2 separate regions of the Homo sapiens genome follow, and region 1 is linked to region 2. Evidence: promoter capture Hi-C in human tissues and cell types (Jung and others, 2019). All regions are on one chromosome and are shown on one strand. The core of a region is centred on a gene start or on the middle of the fragment in contact, and the rest is flanking DNA. Distances in the headings are between cores, read along the strand shown. Region 1 overlaps ELP4 (elongator acetyltransferase complex subunit 4). Region 2 holds the start of PAX6 (paired box 6).

What was found. Contacts are between HindIII fragments. The study calls those that stand out against the background at their distance.
Region 1: a contact is called between a fragment that was not itself captured here and the fragment with the promoter of PAX6 in region 2, in 1 of the 25 tissues and cell types used here (hippocampus).

What each region holds. Positions count from the first base shown.
Region 1 is chr11:31,760,462-31,765,669 of GRCh38, forward strand. The region is part of intron 9 of ELP4 (elongator acetyltransferase complex subunit 4); the gene reads left to right. All of the region lies in intron 2 of ELP4-AS1 (ELP4 antisense RNA 1), which reads right to left. Among named protein-coding and RNA genes, the nearest start is that of ELP4-AS1, 4.8 kb to the right of the region's middle. RefSeq lists enhancers at 2,550-4,848, 2,568-3,274, 3,287-4,848. The HindIII fragment of the contact is 3,665 bases long and covers 1,428-5,092 here.
Region 2 is chr11:31,810,072-31,815,131 of GRCh38, forward strand. PAX6 (paired box 6) reads right to left here and starts at 1,251. Exons shown (of 14, transcript NM_001368894.2): 1 at 1,044-1,251; 2 at 757-944. RefSeq lists enhancers at 817-1,386, 1,089-1,146, 2,494-3,462, a promoter at 1,034-1,443 and a silencer at 4,306-4,560. The HindIII fragment of the contact is 12,830 bases long and covers 1-5,060 here.

The sequences.
Region 1 (5,208 bases), core at 2,010-4,509, 48 kb before region 2:
TTGGCAAGTTCTTTTCCTTAAGTAGAAATATGCATCAGTTTAAGTATGCTAGATTTTTTTAAATGTATTATAAAAACATTAGAAGACGATATTTGTATTTCAAAAGATCTTTTAACTTTACACAAGATTCCTAATAGGTCCCACTTAAGTATAAGTTAAATAGCATATTTCACTTCATGTCAATTTAATTTAGATATAACTTTTTAGAAATAATACTTCCTGTAACTGTACTTAGATGACTTCCTTAGATATTCCAGATGATTCTAAGGGAAAATTAAATGCAAATTATTATGACATATTATTTAACCCTATTACGTTATGATTATAATAGCAGAGACCAGTCATCTTTTTACCAGAATGTTGTATGTTTCTGAGTGATCAGATGCATTGCTTTCTCAATCCAAAAATAACATGTACTAATAATTCACTGCTATTTCAAAAAGTTAGGCTTAGGATGTTCCCAATAACTATACATCCCCAAGAGTAAGGAACTATGGGGCTTAAATTTATTTTGAGTATTTTATGAATCTTTAGCTCTCTTAGGAATTAAACTATATGCTGTGTTCTATAGTTAAGTTAGGTATCGGCTTTTTCAGAAATTTTATCAACTCAATGGCAAGGCTGTTCGCGGTGGCTCACGCCTGTAATCCCACCACTTTGGAGGCCAAGGCAGGGGGATCGCTTCGGCAACATGGCAAGACCCTGTCTCTACAAAAAATTTCAAAAATTAGCTGGGCATGGTGGCACACACTTGTGGTCCCAGCTACTCAGGAGGCTGAGGTGGGAGGATCACTTGAACCCAGGAGGTGGAGGCTGCAGTGAGCCATGATTGCACGACTACACTCCAGCCTGAGCAACAGAGCAAGGCCCTGTCTCAAAAAAAAAAAAAAGCCATTCAGATGCTGTTTAGAGTGATAAAACAATTACTCATTTTTTAACTATACCCAAGATTGAACTTTAATATTTTAAGTTGGAGGAATGGAAATGGAAGGAGTCAATATACTTTTTCACCAGAATAGAATTTCAACCTGTTACATATATACCAGTAAGTATATAAAATCTCTGTAAAGATGGACATTTATGAAACCAAAAAAAGATTTGAATTTAAAAATGTACCTTCTAATAGCATGGGCAATAAAGGATAGGGACAGTGGGGAGATATGCTAATAGGAAGATATATTAAAGAAAATTGAAATGAGAACATAAGTTCATTAGAAAGATATTAGGGCAAATGATTTATTAAGCTAAACAAATAAGAAGGAGTATCTTAGTAAATAAGGACAGTTGGCATGTATGTAGGTGTGGTCTTGGGACTTTGCCACCCAGACCAGGGATTTGGGCTGTGGGGAAGGATGATGACCATCTGCTCCAAGTGACTCCTACTGGCTGATACACAGAGCTCAGTTGGCATCAGTCTCAGAAGAGACTGCCAGCCTCCCAATCAGAAAATAAGCAAAACAATGGCATTGCTGTCAAGCACAGAAATGAAGTTTAAGATTTAAGTAATAAGTGGCGACTCAGAAAGGGTCAGAAACCTTAGAGTGTAATCCAGACAGATATAAGTTGGCTTGATTGTGAAATGGACCATCCTGACAGTTAATGGAGGATACTTGAAAAGCTAGGCAGAAATGATCTACAGTGACCATGGTAAGCAGACTGAAACTATTACAGCTCACGAGATATTTAGCACAACCTTTAACATCTAAACCAGACACAAAGACAATATAACACTACAAAACAGAAAAAAACTTGACCTATGCACAAATTAGATTATATGAAAATAATGTAAATATCACTGAGATTGAGGCAAAGTAGTAAAAAGATAACTTTTGCCTACCTTCTTGTCTTCACAACAAAGTTTATTTAAATGATTTTTTCCTTAACAGCCTTCAAAAGCAGGACCAGTGAACTTTTTATTACCTTACAGAAATCTACATTTTATTCGAAAGAACTTGAAATTAAATGATAGAGTTTAAAAAATGTAAATTTTTAAATTTTTAAAAAATAACCTTTAGACTTCAAAAATACTTATTAAAATAAAGACTTTCTACAATAAGAATCTTTTCACTTTCTCTTTTTAAGTCAGAAGTAATTTTGGTTTTATATTTTGCATTTTGATAGACAAATGTATGTTCTTCCTGTAGATTACAGTCATTTTTAAGTATATTTAGCTATGATTATTTACAGCTCATGTATCATATGTATGATTAATTTTAAATAATTAACTAGAAGGCATTCTTAGCTAAAATATAGATTTTTTTATATATTAATTTGCCATATAGTTTATTCAGCTCTAATTTCTTATGTCTTAAGATATATTTTTTAAACAGCTATTTAGCTCTAAAAGTACTTCAGATAAGTGTGCTTATTGGAATTTTTTATAGAAAAATAATTTTTTTCAGTGTGCAATATAATATAAATAATGATCAACCTGATACAGATTTTATACCTTGAATATTATATATAGGAAAGTATTAAATATAGAAATGAGCAGTTTTCCCTATAGCTATTTATGGGCTATTATTGAATAAAAACAAAAGTACTTTAAATAATAACAAAAGATAAGTAAGCTCAGATGTAAACTTTTCTACTCAAGATTTGGCTTCTTTAAATGCAATTCTGTATAATGAGCAAAAAAAAAAAGCATATCATTTAAATTAGATGACCATTTTAAAATTAACATGTCACTGTTAAAATATCTGTGATGAAAAACAAATATCCTTTAAGGATAGCCATTGAAAATATGCATTCTTAAAAATATCCAAATATAAGCCCTTTCCTGTCGCTTGATTTGTTGCAAATATTTAGGATAGATGAGTTCACTGTGCTTTTAAAAAGATACACAATTGAGAAAGAAAATGAGATGTTAGCTTTTTCCCCCTCTAATCCTTCTCCATCCCTTCAAAATTACTGTTGACTAACAAGTTGTGTCTCTTTTCTCTGAGGCAGTGGGTGCAAGACAACTACTTGAGACAAGAGAGGAACATTTATCCTCCAGGCTTCTCATACTTACTCAAGCAGAAAGACTCTGCATGGGGAGAAGGTTCTTTACAGCATTCCACATTTTTAATGAGCTTCCTTGCAAAGGGTATGGGCTTTCCCTTTTTTCAGCTAAAGCTTCTACTGAAAGAGGGATTTGTTCTCATTAAGAAGGGAATGTTAAGGGATGATAGTTTAAGGTGTTCACATACTGCTATTTAATCACCTTTTTACCAAAGATTAAACTTTACAGCTAAAACTGCAACCAACATGAGTACTTTACTAAGTAGAATTTGGTGTTCAGAATGGTACCTTTTTTTTTTAAGCCTTTCTCTAACTTGTTCTCTGTCTGACTTATTTTAATGTTATATGACATCTAAAGAAATGAGTTTTCAATGTCATTTTCCAAGTCTTTTGTGTAGGTGTGCACAGGTAGCCCATGGGGCTTCATTTATTTTTTTTTTAAATTGGAAGATTGCATTATTATTTTCATAAGTCATGGCTATTCTTTAAACCGAAAATCTATAGTTATTGATAATAAGCTTTATTGTCAGAAATGAAGTTTCTAATTTTTTTAAAGTTGTAAGTATTTTCTTATATCTCTTTCAAGGAATCCCAGTTTATATTTATGTTCACTGCAGCTAAAACAAGGAAGCTGCAGTGGGTGTCCAGTCATGTCATACTTTAGGTAAAACCCGAGCATCTTGGTGTGCGATACAATATTGCGATAATGTCTATTTTATACCTAGGTGGACAAACACAATTAAAGGCTGGTTACTTATTGTCCTGACACCGTTTGAAATAGTCTCAGAGTACATCGTTTGTGCCAAACTAGCTGTGTGTGCTTGAAGACAACCTTTGAAAGTCTCTGCCGACCAGTATAATCTAATGATTTCACTTACACCTCCCTTATTTAACACTGTCATGGAAAGTAAGGAATAGGCCATTCATAATTTACATGTCATTTGCTGCTTCATATTGTGTGAAATTTAATTACACAGCTTAAATCGTAGCCAGTGCTCATTTGTCTCAGGGAGCACTCACAATAAGGCATTGATGTGAGTCCAGCATTCACCCAGAGTCCGCCTTTTATCAAATCACCTTCTGGTGCGGCCATCAAGGCCGCACAGTTGTTCTTTTCACTCTTTTGTAAGGAAAATGAGAGAATTTGACCCCCATTTTCATTTAAAAATCCAGGGCATCATATAAAAGATGCTGCTTGAAAAGATTTTATTCAGTGCTTTACCACAATGGAATATACAGATAAATTTTCTGAAGGTGATTACAGAGCCTGGTTGGGTCCTCCCAGAGCTGTAATAGTTTTGTAGAACTTCCATTGAATCAAGAGAAAAATGAAATACTAAAACTCCCCACAGGTGTCGGTTTTATTATTTTTTCAACAAACACTTCTGGTAGAGGGGAACCCCTGATCCACAGCTACAAATTACTAATCATGTGTATTATTCAACGTTTTAGTCCATTTCTGAAACTTTTCCTTTAAATCAAAAGGACCGCTCTTTAGTAATTGCAGGCTGCTTGGCCTCCTGATGGGAGACTCATATAACCGTAATCCCCCTGACGACTGCTACTGGCACCCATCCCACTCCTCAGCAAAACACTAAGACTGAATTAAGAGGATGAAGAGGATAATTATTAGATTCAGGAACAGTTTCCCAGCAAAATCTGTTTTTTATTCATCACCATGAAAAACTGTTTATGGTTTTGGAAATACTCTGTTATGGTAATGGGTATGAAGCTGTTAGAAGAAGTGACCTTATTCTAAAATTTAACTGTTAAAAGTTTTTTAACAAAAAAAAATTGTATACAGTACAACCAAAAGCATACACTTTGGTGCTGCATTGCTCCTTATGATGCCTCTGCAATATCATCGTGAATGTTAGTGATATTTACAAACACTGATAGATGATATCAGTTCATATTTGCTCTGCCTTAAAATGCCCTAATGCAACCTAACCAAGTAGACATTTTTTATAAGTTAAACAGACTCTTTTTAATATTTGGATACATTCTAATCAATATTTTCTATCAGATTAACAGGGCAACTACCAAAATCTTAAGCTGGATATAATATGAGTAATCATTGACTTTACTTTTATTATAAGTAGCATCTTTATCAAAGAGATGAGTTGTATTTGTAAAAATTTGTAAAATTACAACGAAAGAATTTAAGACTTCCTATCATATAAATAAATAGAGTGCAACAATAGA
Region 2 (5,060 bases), core at 1-2,500:
CCGCTCGGCTCTGAGCTCCCTCGGAGCGCGCGTTCCACCGCCTTGGCCTGGTGGCTTCCTTCCCGGCTCGCGCTAGCTCGCTCTTCCCTCTACCTCCAGCGTGCGGCTGCCTTGCCGACTGACTCCACTCGGGCTGGTGGCGGGCGCGGTGCCCCCCTCGGCGCTCGAGTGCCGGCTGACTCTTCTGCGCCGGAGCCCAGTGCGGCACAAAGCCCGAGGGCCGGCGGGCGGGCGGAGACGCGGCGAGCAGGTTCCCTCGGCGCTCCCTCGGCGAGTCCTCGGAGCGCCCGCTCTCTGCGCGTTCGCTGGGCCTCGGGCTGGACAAAGCAGCCGGCAGCGGTTGCTCTCTGCGGCCGTTCCAGGGCCTTGGGCACCACAGAGCCTCTTCGTCTTTTCCCGCGGGTCGGGAGCATTGGGCGACGCTGGGGCTAGGAGCCGCGGCTGCTGTCGCGCCTGGAGTCTCCCTTCTTCCCGCGAGCTCAGCCCGCGCTGGCGCTGGCGCTGGCGCTGGGGCTGAGCTGGCCGCCCGCCCCGAGCCCTGCGCCGCTCCCGCTCGCCGGCAGTCGCCCTCCGACGCGGGCTTTCGCTGGAAGTAGAAAGTTTGGGCTCCTGCGTGGAAACTTCTCCGGCCCAACTCTCCCGGCGTAGCAGTGGGGGAGGGGACCGGCGAGAGGGGAGGAAGGAAGGGGGGAGGAAGGGGGAGACCTGTCTGAATATTGCAATAAAAATAAAGCGAGAAGAAAGAAGCGGACTCACCTTTATGAGGCATCCTTTCTGGTTGTCACAGCTTCTGTCAAGAGTTTTGTTTGGTTGGGGTTTTTTGTGCTGCTGTTGTTGCTTGAAGACCACAATGGTTTGAAATGACGGTGTTTTAAAGGAGTTGCTGGTGAGAGTTTTCTCCACGGATGTTGCTGGGTTGGTGTGTGAGAGCAATTCTCAGATTCCTGGGAAGGAGACAGAGATTGACAATAAAATGGGCTGTCAGCGGCTGGAGAGTGAGAGATAAAGAGTGTGGGTGAGGGAAGTGGCTGCAGCCAGCACACCTATGCTGATTGGTGATGGCTCAAGTGTGTTAATGTGTGTGTGCCGGCGCCCGGCCTCGCCTCCACCGCTCCTCACTGGCCCATTAGCGAAGCCTGACCTCTGTCATCATCCTCCAGCAAAACACTTCCTCCTGCGCCTGAACCAGAGCGGGAAATGAGGCCGAGCCACGGTTCCCTTTTCAAACCCACTAATCACTCCGCAACATGCAAATGCACCGCTCGCTCTCACACAAAATATTGCTTTATGCAAAGCAGCGCCGGGGCCTCGCGCCAGCCGATTGGATGCTCCCTCTCCCCGCCTGGTGCAATTGGTCCGTTTGTTTGAATATGAATACACTTGTTTTCGGCTCCGCCGGTGGGTCCCGGCTCCTCTCCCCGGCGCAGGGCCCCCGAGCCCGGGCTCTGGCGCTCGCCTGCATCTCCCCGCTCCGCGCACGCCGAGATTCGGCGCGGCCCGCCCTGCTGCCGCGAACTTGAGCGGTCAAGTGAAGGTTTCTGGGTTGGGGGTCGCGCCCCCACTCCCCCTAAGCTGGACTCGGGACTCCCAGTCCTCGGAGGGTGCAAGTTTCTGTGCTGTCCTTTCTTGCCAACTCCAGGACAGCGTGGCCTGCCGCCCCGCCCCCGCCCGCCCCCACCCCATCCCAGCCGGGGCCCCAAGACACAGAGCACAGCGGCGGCCGCACCCCAGCCCACCTGGCCCCTTGGAAGAAGAGGAAAGGGGCGGGAGCGTCACTGGGTCCTGGCAGCTCCATTCCAGCTGCGGAGGCCGCGGCGAAGCCTAGGCCGAGAGGAGGTTGCCGGGCCGAGAACTAAACGAGGCCAGAGGCCTCCCCAGCCCAAGCCTCCAGGGCCTGTCCAAATCCTCCACCCCGCTCTCCCCGCCCTTTCTTCTCTCCTTTCTCCTTTCGGAAGCCGCGGTGCGCAGCGGAGCAGAGGCACAGCTCTGGCTGGAGAGGCCCGAGTAAACACGCCACTTACTTTGTGTACAGAGGGTTCTTGTGAAAAGCCCTGAAGAGTCCTCACCAAACACTCACCAACTTCTCCCACGTGCCATTTGTTGACTAAGTGCGGCTGCTTTTCGCAGCGCCCGAGAGGAGGGGAAGCCAGGGGAGATAAGAGGGGAGGGGGAGTGGAAGCCTGGGTGGGGGGGCGGATGACCAATGCTGGGAGGGATTCTCTCTCTCTCTCTGTGTGTGTGTGTGTGTGTGTGTGTGTGTGTGTGTGTGTCCCACTGGCGATGTCGGTATGTCAGCGTGTGTCGTGTGTGCCACCGGTCATCTGTGTGTGGTGCGTGTGTCTCCGCACCACGACTCCCTCTCCTGGGTCTGCTCAGTCCACGGAGGCAGCTCCCCTTCAGCTGTTGCCAGAAAACCGGGGAGGAAAGTAAGTAAATGGCTTTTCTCTTCTGACCACACACCAGAAGTCCATTTGTTGAATGCCGCACGATTAGGACACACCTCAGTACACTCCAAAGGCGCCCCTCGGAGCCTGCAGTTAAGGTGACAGGAGAGCGAGCGGCTGCCTGGTCCTGCGCTGTCCCGAGCTCTCTCGGCGGCTTCGGGCCACGGAGCCGGGAAGGAGAAGGAAGGCCTGGGCTGCTGTACACACCCCAGGACAGGGCGAGGGGGAATAGGGCTGAAGAGCTGAGGCAGGGAGGCTGAAATGAAGCAGCCGAAGGGTACGCTAGACTCTTCTTGACTTAGGGAAAGTGCTGAAAGTCAGAGCTCATCAATAAAATCTGCGCGACCTGAACTCGCTGCTGACTGGCCGCGTCGCCGCAGCCCCTGGCAGCCGGGACAGTGAGGACGCTGCAAGCCGCCCTGGGCCGCCGGGCCACATGTGGGCCTCACCCTCTCGTTCCTGCCTGGGACCCAGCAGCCCTGCGACCAAGGAGCCCGGGCAGGGCTCCCGGGAAGCAAAGGCCTCCCCGGCCCTAGCCAGAGGTGGGGTCGCATAACCCTCTCCCCTCCCCGGGCTGGGGAGGGCTGCCGGCTCTAACCCTTCCCCGGGAGCTCGCAGCGCCGGGAGGAAACCTGGGTCAGAGGTGAAGGAGGTGGCGCCGGGTGTCCAGGTCCGCGGCCTCCTGGGCGAGGTTTCATTTCGCAGGAGCGCGACTTTCGGAGGATGCCGGCAAGTGGGGCCGCGGCCCTGAGTCCCAGACCAGCGAAAGTCGGCTTTCTCTTTCTCTCTCCTTTTACTTTCCAAGCGAGCATTAAAGAAGCTTGGACTCAAGACTCAAGTCCGCTGTGCATGAGCGAGGGACTTGCGGGGGGGCGGGGGGGGGGGAAGTGATTCTGTCCGAACTGGAGGCGAGTATCATTTTTACAACCTCTCAATTAGCGACCGAGTGGATTAGCACCTTCTTAAGCTTTGCCTCGGAAAGAAGCAGCCGTAATCTTGTTGCTATTTCCCCCCAGGGCACTGGCTCTTTGAATCAGCTCCTTCTCCCACCCCTCCAACCCCCATCTCGCTGCGGAGAAAAGTTTTAACAAAAAATCAGAAAAGGCAAGGAGCGAGGAGTGAATGCCACTGACGTCATTGGGTGGGGAAGGGGGCTCCGGGAAAGACTCCTGGAAACTCCTCCGCACAAACAAAAAACAAAAAGGACTTGGCTGCTTCCCATGTGTCAATATTTGGGGAGGGGAGTTCAACCCCAGAATGAGGCCGAGTTTTCAAAGTTTAAGGAGAGAGGGGTGAGAGTGAGATTTCCTCGTTCTCTCTGGACTGGTCTCAAGGAAGGTGGGGGTGCTGTTCTACCTCGTGGGGAGCCTCACTCCCTCTGCCAAGTACCGGCTCTGGGGGCGAAGCGGCCTAGGGGTGTGGGGGCCGAGACTGAGGTGCGGGCGCGGTTGCCAGAGGTGTGTACAAAACCGAGACAACTCGCAGGTCGCCATTTTAATTGCGGCTACCAACACGCCCGAGGCCCACTTGCTGCCCTCCAAGACGCGGGGGGGCGGCGGGGATTGCGCTTTAGGTTCTGTCTCCTTTCCCCGCCTCCCCACAGGCCCCTGTTCCCCCCTACCCTCCGCCCCCTGTGGCCAGAGGGAGGACCTCTCAGGCCGGCGGGTGCGTTCCCGCGGGGGCCGCCGGGGTCGTCCCACCCGGTAGCGGGGCTGTCTGCGTGGAGGGAGTCCCGCTGGGGGACCGTGGCTCGCCAGAGCCTGCCCAGAGCTTCTAGCCAGTATTGATGCGTCAACATGAGGTGAGGCAAGCATCTCACCCGCACCGATCCCTGGCATTCCCCTGTGCCCACCCCATCAGGCCTTCGGGGAGGCAAAGAAGTGCCCACTTCTGGGGGGAAGTGCCTCCAGCTCCCAGCTTCAGAACCAAGAGCCTCCCATCCGGAGTTCTGACAGTTCTGACACCTCCAAACTCTCTCTTTCCCCGGTCAAGCAGAGGCGCAGCGCCGGCGCGCTGGAAAGGGTGAAGACTGGCATTTTTTGGAGAAGGAAAGTCTTGGCAGACACCTGCGTCACTTTGTAGTGCCCCAAACGTCTCTCTTTTTGCAGACCCTGGGAAGGTGGGATCCCTTGTCCGCGGAGCTGGCAAACGGGTCCAGTGAGCCCTAAAGGCAAAGGCTCCCATCCCGGCCGCCCAGTCCCTGGTGCCTCCCCCACTTCCAGGCCTTTGTCCCTCTCCTTTCTCCAGCAACCTGCCGGTTCCCGCTAACCCGGCAGCCTCGCCGAGCCCAGAGCCTAGAAAAGCCAAGAAGATCCCAGAGCCGCCCCGTGGCACCTTCAGGCTGTGGCCACTGCTCGGCTTGGGGGGAAGCCGCGGTGCCCTCGCCCTTCCTCGCCTCCTGCCAAATGGCCAGTGCTAGGGGCTCCCTGGGTTCAGTCCTCAGTCCTCTTCCGTTCGCTCTGGGAGGCCAGCCTGTCTCTCTCTCTCTCTCTCTCTCTCTCTCTCTCTCTCTCTTTCTCTCTCTGTCTTCTCCCTGCCCACCCCCAAAATACCTTTAAAATAACATTGTCCAGTGGAGTCTCCCAGCAAAGGGATTCCTAGCAGCCCAGCGGGTCA